Regions from separate parts of the Homo sapiens genome. Here region 1 is linked to region 2. The links are contacts of gene promoters, found by promoter capture Hi-C in blood cells and fetal thymus (Javierre and others, 2016). All regions are on one chromosome and are shown on one strand. The core of a region is centred on a gene start or on the middle of the fragment in contact, and the rest is flanking DNA. Distances in the headings are between cores, read along the strand shown.

What was found. Contacts are between HindIII fragments. The CHiCAGO score rates a contact against its expected background, and 5 or more counts as called.
Region 1: a contact is called between a fragment that was not itself captured here and the fragment with the promoter of ROPN1L-AS1 in region 2, in 1 of 17 cell types (total CD4 T cells). The highest score is 5.6, in total CD4 T cells.

Annotation. Positions count from the first base shown.
Region 1 is chr5:5,497,335-5,501,484 of GRCh38, forward strand. No RefSeq gene overlaps it. Among named protein-coding and RNA genes, the nearest start is that of ICE1, 77 kb to the left of the region's middle. RefSeq lists enhancers at 1-483, 484-1,006. The HindIII fragment of the contact is 4,011 bases long and covers 1-3,627 here.
Region 2 is chr5:10,440,258-10,444,729 of GRCh38, forward strand. ROPN1L-AS1 (ROPN1L antisense RNA 1) reads right to left here and starts at 1,594. Exons shown (of 2, transcript NR_102746.1): 1 at 1,431-1,594; 2 at 478-1,116. ROPN1L (rhophilin associated tail protein 1 like) reads left to right here and starts at 1,622. Exons shown (of 5, transcript NM_031916.5): 1 at 1,622-2,041. The coding sequence starts at 1,911. MARCHF6 (membrane associated ring-CH-type finger 6) reads left to right here. Exons shown (of 26, transcript NM_005885.4): 26 at 1-131. RefSeq lists a silencer at 1,476-1,735. The HindIII fragment of the contact is 3,763 bases long and covers 1-2,571 here.

The DNA of each region.
Region 1 (4,150 bases), core at 372-2,871, 4.9 Mb before region 2:
AGCAGGGAGAGCTCTGCGCTTTGATCATGAACCCTGGCTCTCAAAACGGTTCTTTCATATGGAAGCTCTCCTTCTTCAGACCAAGAACAGGCTTAGGAAAGAAAAGAAACAAAAGGCGTATTTCAAATCCACCCAATGCCATCTTTTTTCAAACATGTTCCTCATGTATATTTCAAAGGGGCCGTTTCCACAGAAGCAAAGACTGCATGAGCCAGTGGCGGCAACGCTTCTAAAGCGCTTGAGAGGGAACTTCCAATAAAGAGCTTTACAGACAGCATTGAGAAATTAGATACTTTTCGAATATTGCAACAGTTTTGTAAGAAAATAACACCTTGGAATGTTTCAGGAGTTGGAGTTCAGAGGCAAAAGCATGTTTGCGATGAAGTAATCTGTCTCTGTGTCTTTGCATCCTGCTGTGCCCCACCGTGTTTTGAAGGAGGGTTGCAGAGTCACTGACCCTGTGGGATGGCCAAACTGCACATGCCCAGCGCTCTGCCCGCCCCAGGGCACCTCTCCCACCTGCCAAGGAACCTGCTCCCACCCTGACCACTCGCAGATAATCCAAGACTCACTATATCTTAATGGAAAACCACAGTCACATTGGCAAATGTTTGGACAACCCGAATCTGACCTCCAGAAAGGAGAGCCCTGCGCACCCCCTGCTCAGGAAGACTTGGTTGTGCGAGTGAAAGTGTGCAGCTGTGAGGAGAAAGCCCTTCCTGGCCTGTTGCCCTGTGTTTTCTGACCACTACGTTTCCTTTGGTTAAAAAAAAAAAAAAAAAAGTCTCTGGGGAAAGATGATAGAGTCCTTTATTAAAAGGCATTTAGCCTACAGGAATGTCTGTATTATTGTGATAGTGATTATTAAAAAATAATCGCAATATAACTTGCCTGGAATTGTTGTTGTTAAAAAGGGTTAGGAATACTTGCATGTCTTTCAGATCGAGGTGGAAAGGGGAGCACCTATAGTTTCTCATGGCTTCATGGGGCTCCTTGCACCCCTGGTAATTGTCTTTTGTCTTGGTGTAGCAATTATGAAACAAGACAAGTGTATCATAAATCATATTTTTATAAGAGTCATCCCCAAATTTTTGGTAGGGCTTAAAACTTTTTTTCGACACAAAATACAGTGCCCCCAAGAAATGTCCATTCAGATAATGAGAATTTGACCTCACAAGACATTTCCGCTCAAAAGACATTTCTTGGGCTGGGTGCGGTGGCTCACGCCTGTAATCCCAGCACTTTGGGAGGCTGAGGCAGGATCACCTGAGGTCAGGAGTTTGAGACCAGCCTGACCAACATGGTGAAACCCGTCTCTACTAAAAATATGAAAAAGTAGCCAGGCGTGGTGGTGCATGCCTGTAACCTCAGCTACTCAGGGGGCTGAGGCAGGAGAATTGCTTGAACCTGGGAGGTGGAGGTTGCAGTGAGCCAAGATTATGCCACTGCACTCCAGCCTGGGCAACACAGCAAGACTCTGTCTCAAAAAAACAACAAACAAGCAAAACACACACAGAAAAAAGACATTTCTTTGCATTAACAAAACCGCACTGCATTTTGTTATTCTGGCAAGGTCCTGGTGGTTTGTTAGTTTATAGAATTAGCAGTCTTTCACTATTGAGATGAAGTAATTTTGATCGCTTTCTTTTGCCTTTATCTTTGATTTTCATTTTGTTTTATGGGGATGGAATGGGCAGGGATTTACATGAAATTTTCAAGTTTAAACATAGATATTACAATATTGTTAATTATTGAAGTAATTTCATGCCACTAATTTTAACTAATTAGGCATTACAAAAATCTTTGCTTGATAAAGAGTTTTTCAGAACTAACTTGGTTTTTCTTTTAAACCAAGGAATACTCAATCTCTGTCTTCCTTAGAACATGCTTGAAAATCAGATATTACTATCATTGTATCTGCTTCTAAAGCTGAGGCACAGGCAGGCTAAGTGACCTTAACATCAATGAAAATGTGGACTTGTGAAAAGCACGAAGCAGATTCTCTAAACCTGCCTGCTGATTCCAATATCCTCATGAAGTACCCAATGGCCTAAGATAAAATGTGTTTCCTCTCCCCCAGACCCTGTGTTTTCACCATCTTAAGCTGGGGAAAGAAACGACAAAAAGTGGCAGAAAGATTAGACTTGGTTTATAGTCATTTCCATCATCTCTTGGAAGAAGAAAGATGCTGGTTACCTTGGGCCTGTAGAGCAGGTCCCGGGAATTGACCACATGAGGCACATTTGTGCGTGGAAAGCAAAAGCAGTGTGTTTTCGGCTGCCTGGGGACCTGGGCACCAGGCACAGTGCTCAGAGCAGCCATCCCGAGGCAGATTTCACCGTGCACAGCCTATGGCATAAGAGCCATGCTGCAAGAGCCGGTGAGTGGCAGACAGAAGTTGCAAACTAGGTCTCTCTGCCTGTTCTCTGGAGCCTGCCTTTTTCCTGGGTGCATTGCCCCTTCTCACTGCCATATTGTATGCATTCATATGTGAGGTTCTTCTTTTTCTGCAAGAAAAAAGAACAAAACACATTAAGGATTTCAAGATTATATCCACCTTATTCAATAGATTTTACCCCAGATAATTTCACAACCTTTTTATATAATTCCAGATTTGATTAAACACTTCCCTTCTCAGTTCTGAAACTTGCATGGACTTAGTCAACCAAAATGTTTTCTCACAAAAACCTCAAAGAACAGTTAACACACACAATTTCTAGTGGTCATGTAAAAAGATAGTAATATATATATTTCTACCTATTGATTCATTTAAAATTAGAAATAATTGCTAAGCATTTTGAGAAAATAATTAGGACTAGTTTGAAGTTTAATTTGGGTAGAAGTCAGTTTGCAGGAATGATACATTTACTTTTAAATTTAGTCATATCCATATTCAGGTCAACATTTACAGTGACCAAAATAAAGACTAATATAAAAATCATTTTAAGAGAATATTTTTAAAACAGAATATTTTTACAGTTGCAATGGACCAGCGTCCTGAGGAAGGAGCAGGCTTCCCCTGTTGATGCTCTGCAAGGTAGACCTGCAGAGGACTGCCTGGCTCCCTTGTCTAAGAAGGGCAAACATCTTCACCTCTCTTAGATGAAGCCTGAAATGTGCTTTAAATCCATAATCCCTGGGTACTCCTGGAAACCACAAACCTGCCCACTCATTGTCAGTAGAGCCCAGTAGAAGTCAAAAATAAAGAGGGGGTTTCTGCAGAATTGTAGACTAATAGCATGATTAAGATGCTGACTAAAATATATATATATTTAACTTTTATATTTTGAGATGAAGTCTCACTCTGTCACCCAGGCTGGAGTGCAGTGGTGCGATCTCAGCTCACTGCAATCTCTGCTTCCCGGGTTCAAGCGATTCCCCTGCCTCAGTCTCCTGAGTAGCTGGGACTACAGGTGCCTGCCACCATGCCTAGCTAATTTTTGTATTTTTCAGTAGAGACGGGGTTTCACCACATTGGCCAGGCTGGTCTCGAACTCCAGACCTTGTGATCTGCCCACCTCGGCCTCCCAAAGTGCTGGGATTACAGGCATGTACTAAAATATTTTTAATGCACAGTTGAGCTAGCAGCAAATAAAGGAATCTCTTCAAAGTGAGAAAGGACAAGAAAGCTTAACTCCCCAGGAGAAAGGAGCACTGAAACCATTTGCCCTAGATTTGAACAGGGTGGGATGTAGACAGTCTCGGGTGGGATGCAGATGGAAGGTTACAGGCCACATAGAAGGGCAATGGAGACAAAGTCTGGGGCCAAAATTAGGGGATGTCATATCAGCGACAACCCCACCCCCAAAAGCCAAGTCTCACATAGGGAGATATCTTGGGGGTAAGCCAAAAAAAAAAAAAAGCCCCCAAAGAGGAAGAAGATAGGGATGCTAACCTACTGTTAACCTAACTGTGGGTGGATCAGAGAAAAAAGCACACACAAACAGCAATATCTCCCAGAAGAATTTCTACCCAAAGGCCTGCACTCATGAATTTGGGACAGGAATATATACTGCTAGTGGGCTCAATTCCCCCAAAATGTGTTTTCAGTGATCCCAGGTTAGAAGTACCATCGAGGACCTGCAAAGGCAGTTGCAAATCTTCACTACAGGGAAGTTATTTTGATTCCAGTCCTTAAAAGATCCCCACA
Region 2 (4,472 bases), core at 344-2,843:
TCTATGGCCAAAATAAAACCTGAAATCCCTGTCCTATTTCCCAGAGGTAACTGCTGTTAATAGTTTAGTTGTGTGCTTCCAGACATACCTTCACAGAATCATTTATCACAATAAAGGTGTCATACTATGCAGATTGTTTGACAAGATGCTTTTTTTCACTTTACACGGGCATCTTTTCATACCATTGTGTGGCCAGGCCATGATTTGTTTTCCAAAAGACATTTACCCAATTTATATGGTGAAGATTTTTGTCCATATTACTTTTTATAGTATTTCTGTAGGGTAAGTTCCCAGAAGTAATATTGCACGATCATCGAAAAATTTTAGTGTTACATTACTGCCCCATAAAGGTACTAATTAACATCCCTCTCAACAACATAGAAGATTCCTTTTTTTTTTTTTCTTTTTTTGGGTGGAGGGGGGCGGGGACAGAGTCTTACTCTGTCGCCCAGGCTGGAGTGCAGTGGTGCCATTTCTGCTCACGGCAACCTCCACCTCCCGGGCTCAAGCTATTCTCCTGCCTCAGCCTCCCAAGTAGCTGGGAATACAGGCACGCGCCACTACGCCCAGCCAATTTTTGTAGAGAAGGGGGTTTCACCATGTTAGCCAGGCTAGTCTCGAACTCCTGACCTTGTGATCAGTGCTGGGGTTACAGGCGTGACCCACCGCGCCCGGACGGATTTCTTGTTTTCATACTGTCATCAACTTTAAATACAAGTATTTTCAGTTTTTGCCAATGCTGTTAATTTAGAAATGTGTATGTATATATTGTCTGGTGGGTGTTTGGATGGAAACGATCAAAATCGGGCAACTTCCCCAGTTTCCTTGAAGGGAGTGCTTGCCATCGGCCCCTCTGGGAAGTAGCTCTCCGTAGTTCTCCATCTTCCTGTTTTGAGGAACGCAGGAGGAGGTGGATCTGGAGTCTCATCCATTCGGTGGCTGTTAACGGCAACTGCAGCAGCCAGCCAGGTCACCCCCTAAAGCAAAGTTAACCCCTTGCATGGTGCCTTGGTCAGCACCCACCAAATTCGAGGTTTCTCCTATCCTTCGACTCGAGGCTCTTTTGACAGATGTGATTTATTTCCTCCTAGAGCCAGTCACATTGGCTCAAGCAACCTATCGTAAGAAAACAAATACAATAGTGTTTTAGCTGGAAACTGCCCACTGTCTAAGCGGCTTTTTAAATTAAGAACTCAGGTTCACTACGGGATGGCTTAGGCCAGGGAACAGCATGTGCGAAGTTCGAAGCCCGAGAAGTTTGGAGGAGCGGCCCCAGGCGCAGGCGGGTCCCGCAGCGGGGCCCGTGCCGCCCAGGCGATCAGCCCCTTCACTTAACCCGCTTCCCTCCTAGCAGGCCCGAGTCCCCTAGCCTCAGCCTCACGCAGCCAGAGCAAGGGGAAGAGGGAGTCCTTCGTGAGTTCGCCGCTCACATTCGGCGGTGGGAAACCGATCCGAAGATGCTTTTGTAGGCGAAACGCTCAGCTCGCGCGGCTCTGAACCACCGGGGAGCAGCGGCTGCTGCTAGTCGGACTACGCCAGCACCTCCTTGTCCAGCCCGGGAGCAGCCCCGCCTCGCTCAGGGCCGCGTGCGCGTGCGCGGCTCCAGGGGCGGGGCCTGCTCGCGTCCCGGGTGCCTGGATACCGAGCGCGTCCGTAGTGGCGGCTGGCGCTAGGGAACTGCAGGGTCTAGGGTGTTGTCGGAGTGGCAGTTGGTCCGAATTTCTCCCGAAGCCCGCGGAGGAGCGGGTAAGAGCCCCGCGAATCCGGCCCCAACCTCGGGAACGGGATGGGAGGCGGCCCTGGCCGCAAGCCCCGCGCTGCTAGCGGGTCCACCGCGTCGTAGCCGACAGCCGCCCTTCTTCCTCGCAGCGCGCCGCGATTCACCAGCCTGGTCCCTTCTGCGGAGAGCGATGCCGCTTCCCGACACCATGTTCTGCGCTCAGCAGATCCACATTCCCCCGGAGCTGCCGGACATCCTGAAGCAATTCACCAAGGCTGCCATCCGCACCCAGCCGGCCGACGTGCTGCGGTGGTCCGCGGGGTAAGCGCCCTTGGCCCGGGGAGCTGTCCGGTCTACATGCCCAAGCCAGACGAGCCCAGAGAGCCCTCCTCCCGGACCAGGGGCCTTACGCGGCACTCAGCGTCCTTAAGAGTATCAGGCAAAACTTTCCCCTTAGCATTGGTGACATCTATACTTGAGTGTTTTATCTAGGAACCATTTCGATTTATCGACTATGAGACCCGAAATCATTGCAAAATGCTCACTTACCTACAACGTAATGGCAACTCAATTGTTTAAAAGTGTTTATGATGAAGATAGACTAAAACTTAACAAAGTAATTGCATTGGGCAAAAAAGTGTTTACATTATGTTAAAAAAATTACACGGTTGCAGTCACTTTGTGAAATGACTTTACAAAGAGGAATATTTTAGCTAAGTTCCTCATCTGCAGAGAGTCCTCTCAGAGCTATGTATACCCAGAGCTGGTTAAATTTATTAGAACCGGAACGACCGTGGTCATACTGAGGTCATCATCCCTAGAGTGCTCAGGGTAAACTGTCCAGCAAATGAAGCTTCACAGTTTATTTTTTGCCACAAACATTCCAACACTTGCCAGGAACAGACATTCATAATCTCAAAGTTACAAGTCAACAGATCTTAGAGGCATTAAAAGAAATCCTCTTGGTTTTACAGGAGAGCTCTTTGCCCCTTTTCAATAAACAGATGTAAAACAAAAACTCACTTTTATGATGACAAGAGTCAGCACAGGTGTAAATTTAATTTAAATATTTTAGTCATCAACATTTCAAATTTTGGCTGGGCTTGGTGGTTCATGCCTGTAATCCCAGCACTTTGGGAGGCCAAGCTGGGAGGATCACTTGAGCCCAAGAGTTTGAGACCAGCCTGGGTAACACAGCAAGACCCCATCTGTATTTTTTTTAATAAGAAAACTAATTTAAAAAGAAAAAAAACAGCCAAATTTTGCTGGCTTTAAACTCTATAACCAAAGTGAATTAGTTTCGTTTGGCTGCTGTAACAAATCACCACAAAACTTGACAGCTTAAAACACAGACATACATTTGGGCCGGGCGCGGTGGCTCACGCCTGTAATCCCAGCACTTTGGGAGGCCGAGGCGGGTGGATCATGAGGTCAGGAGATCGAGACCATCCTGGCTAACAAGGTGAAACCCCGTCTCTACTAAAAATACAAAAAATTAGCCGGGCGCGGTGGCGGGCGCCTGTAGTCCCAGCTACTCGGGAGGCTGAGGCAGGAGAATGGCGTGAACCCGGGAAGCGGAGCTTGCAGTGAGCCGAGATTGCGCCACTGCAGTCCGCAGTCCGGCCCGGGCGACAGAGCGAGACTCCGTCTCAAAAAAAAAAAAAACACAGACATACATTCTTGCAGTTCTGGAGGCCAGAAGTCCAAATTAGTTTCACTAGGCTAAAATCAAGGTGTTGACAGGGCTTTGCTCTTTCCAGTGGTTCTCAGGAAAACCCAGCTCGTTTCCTTGCCTTTTCTGGCTTCTAGAGCTGCATTTCTTGGACGCCTTGGCTCATGTCCCCTTCCTCCATTTTCAAGGCCAGCATCTTCAAATCTCCCTCTGCCTCCTTCTTCCAAGGACACTGGTGATTGCATTCAGTGGCCATCCAGATAGTCCAGGGCAGTTTTCCCACCCGAGATCCTTATCAGTCCACAAAATCCCTGTTACCATGTAAAGTAACATTCCCAGGTTCCTGGAACATGGACCTGGATACCTTTGGGGCTGTTATTTTACCCACCAACTGAGCTACTTGTCCATCCAGTGCTTGCCTTCTGAGAAATGCTTTTATCAATGGTTTCTGAAAGACTCTTTCAAAGTTCTTGCTAAAGAAATATAGCCTCTGGTTTTAACCATTATTCAAGCTTAAATAAAAGGATTTATAAGAGTTTGTGCTGTACAAAAAATTCCAAGATTTAGCAACATCTTCTTGGAACATTAAACTATATTTAGTAATACCTTAGAGATAGTTATGTTAAGCTTCACTTTGTTTATTTATTTATTTATTTTTGAGACGGAGTTTCACTCTTGTTGCCCAGGCTGGAGTGCAATGGCGAGATCTCGGCTCACGGCAACCTCTGCCTCCCGGGTTCAAGCGATTCTCCTGCCTCAGCCTCCCAAGTAACTGGGATTACAGGCACTTGCCACCACACCCGGCTAATTTTTGTATTTTTAGTAGAGATGGGGTTTCACCATGTTGGCCAGGCTAGTCTCGAACTCCTGACCTCAGGTGATCTATCCACTTGGGCCTCCCAAAGTGCTGGGATTACCAGTGTAAGCCACCGCACCTGGCCTAAACTTCACTTTAAGAGGCTTAATCAGGCTGGGCATGGTGGCTCACACCTGTAATCCCAGAGTTTGGGAGGCCAAGGCTGATGAATCACCTGAGGTCAGGAGTTCGAGACCAACCTGACCAACATGGTGAAACCCCAT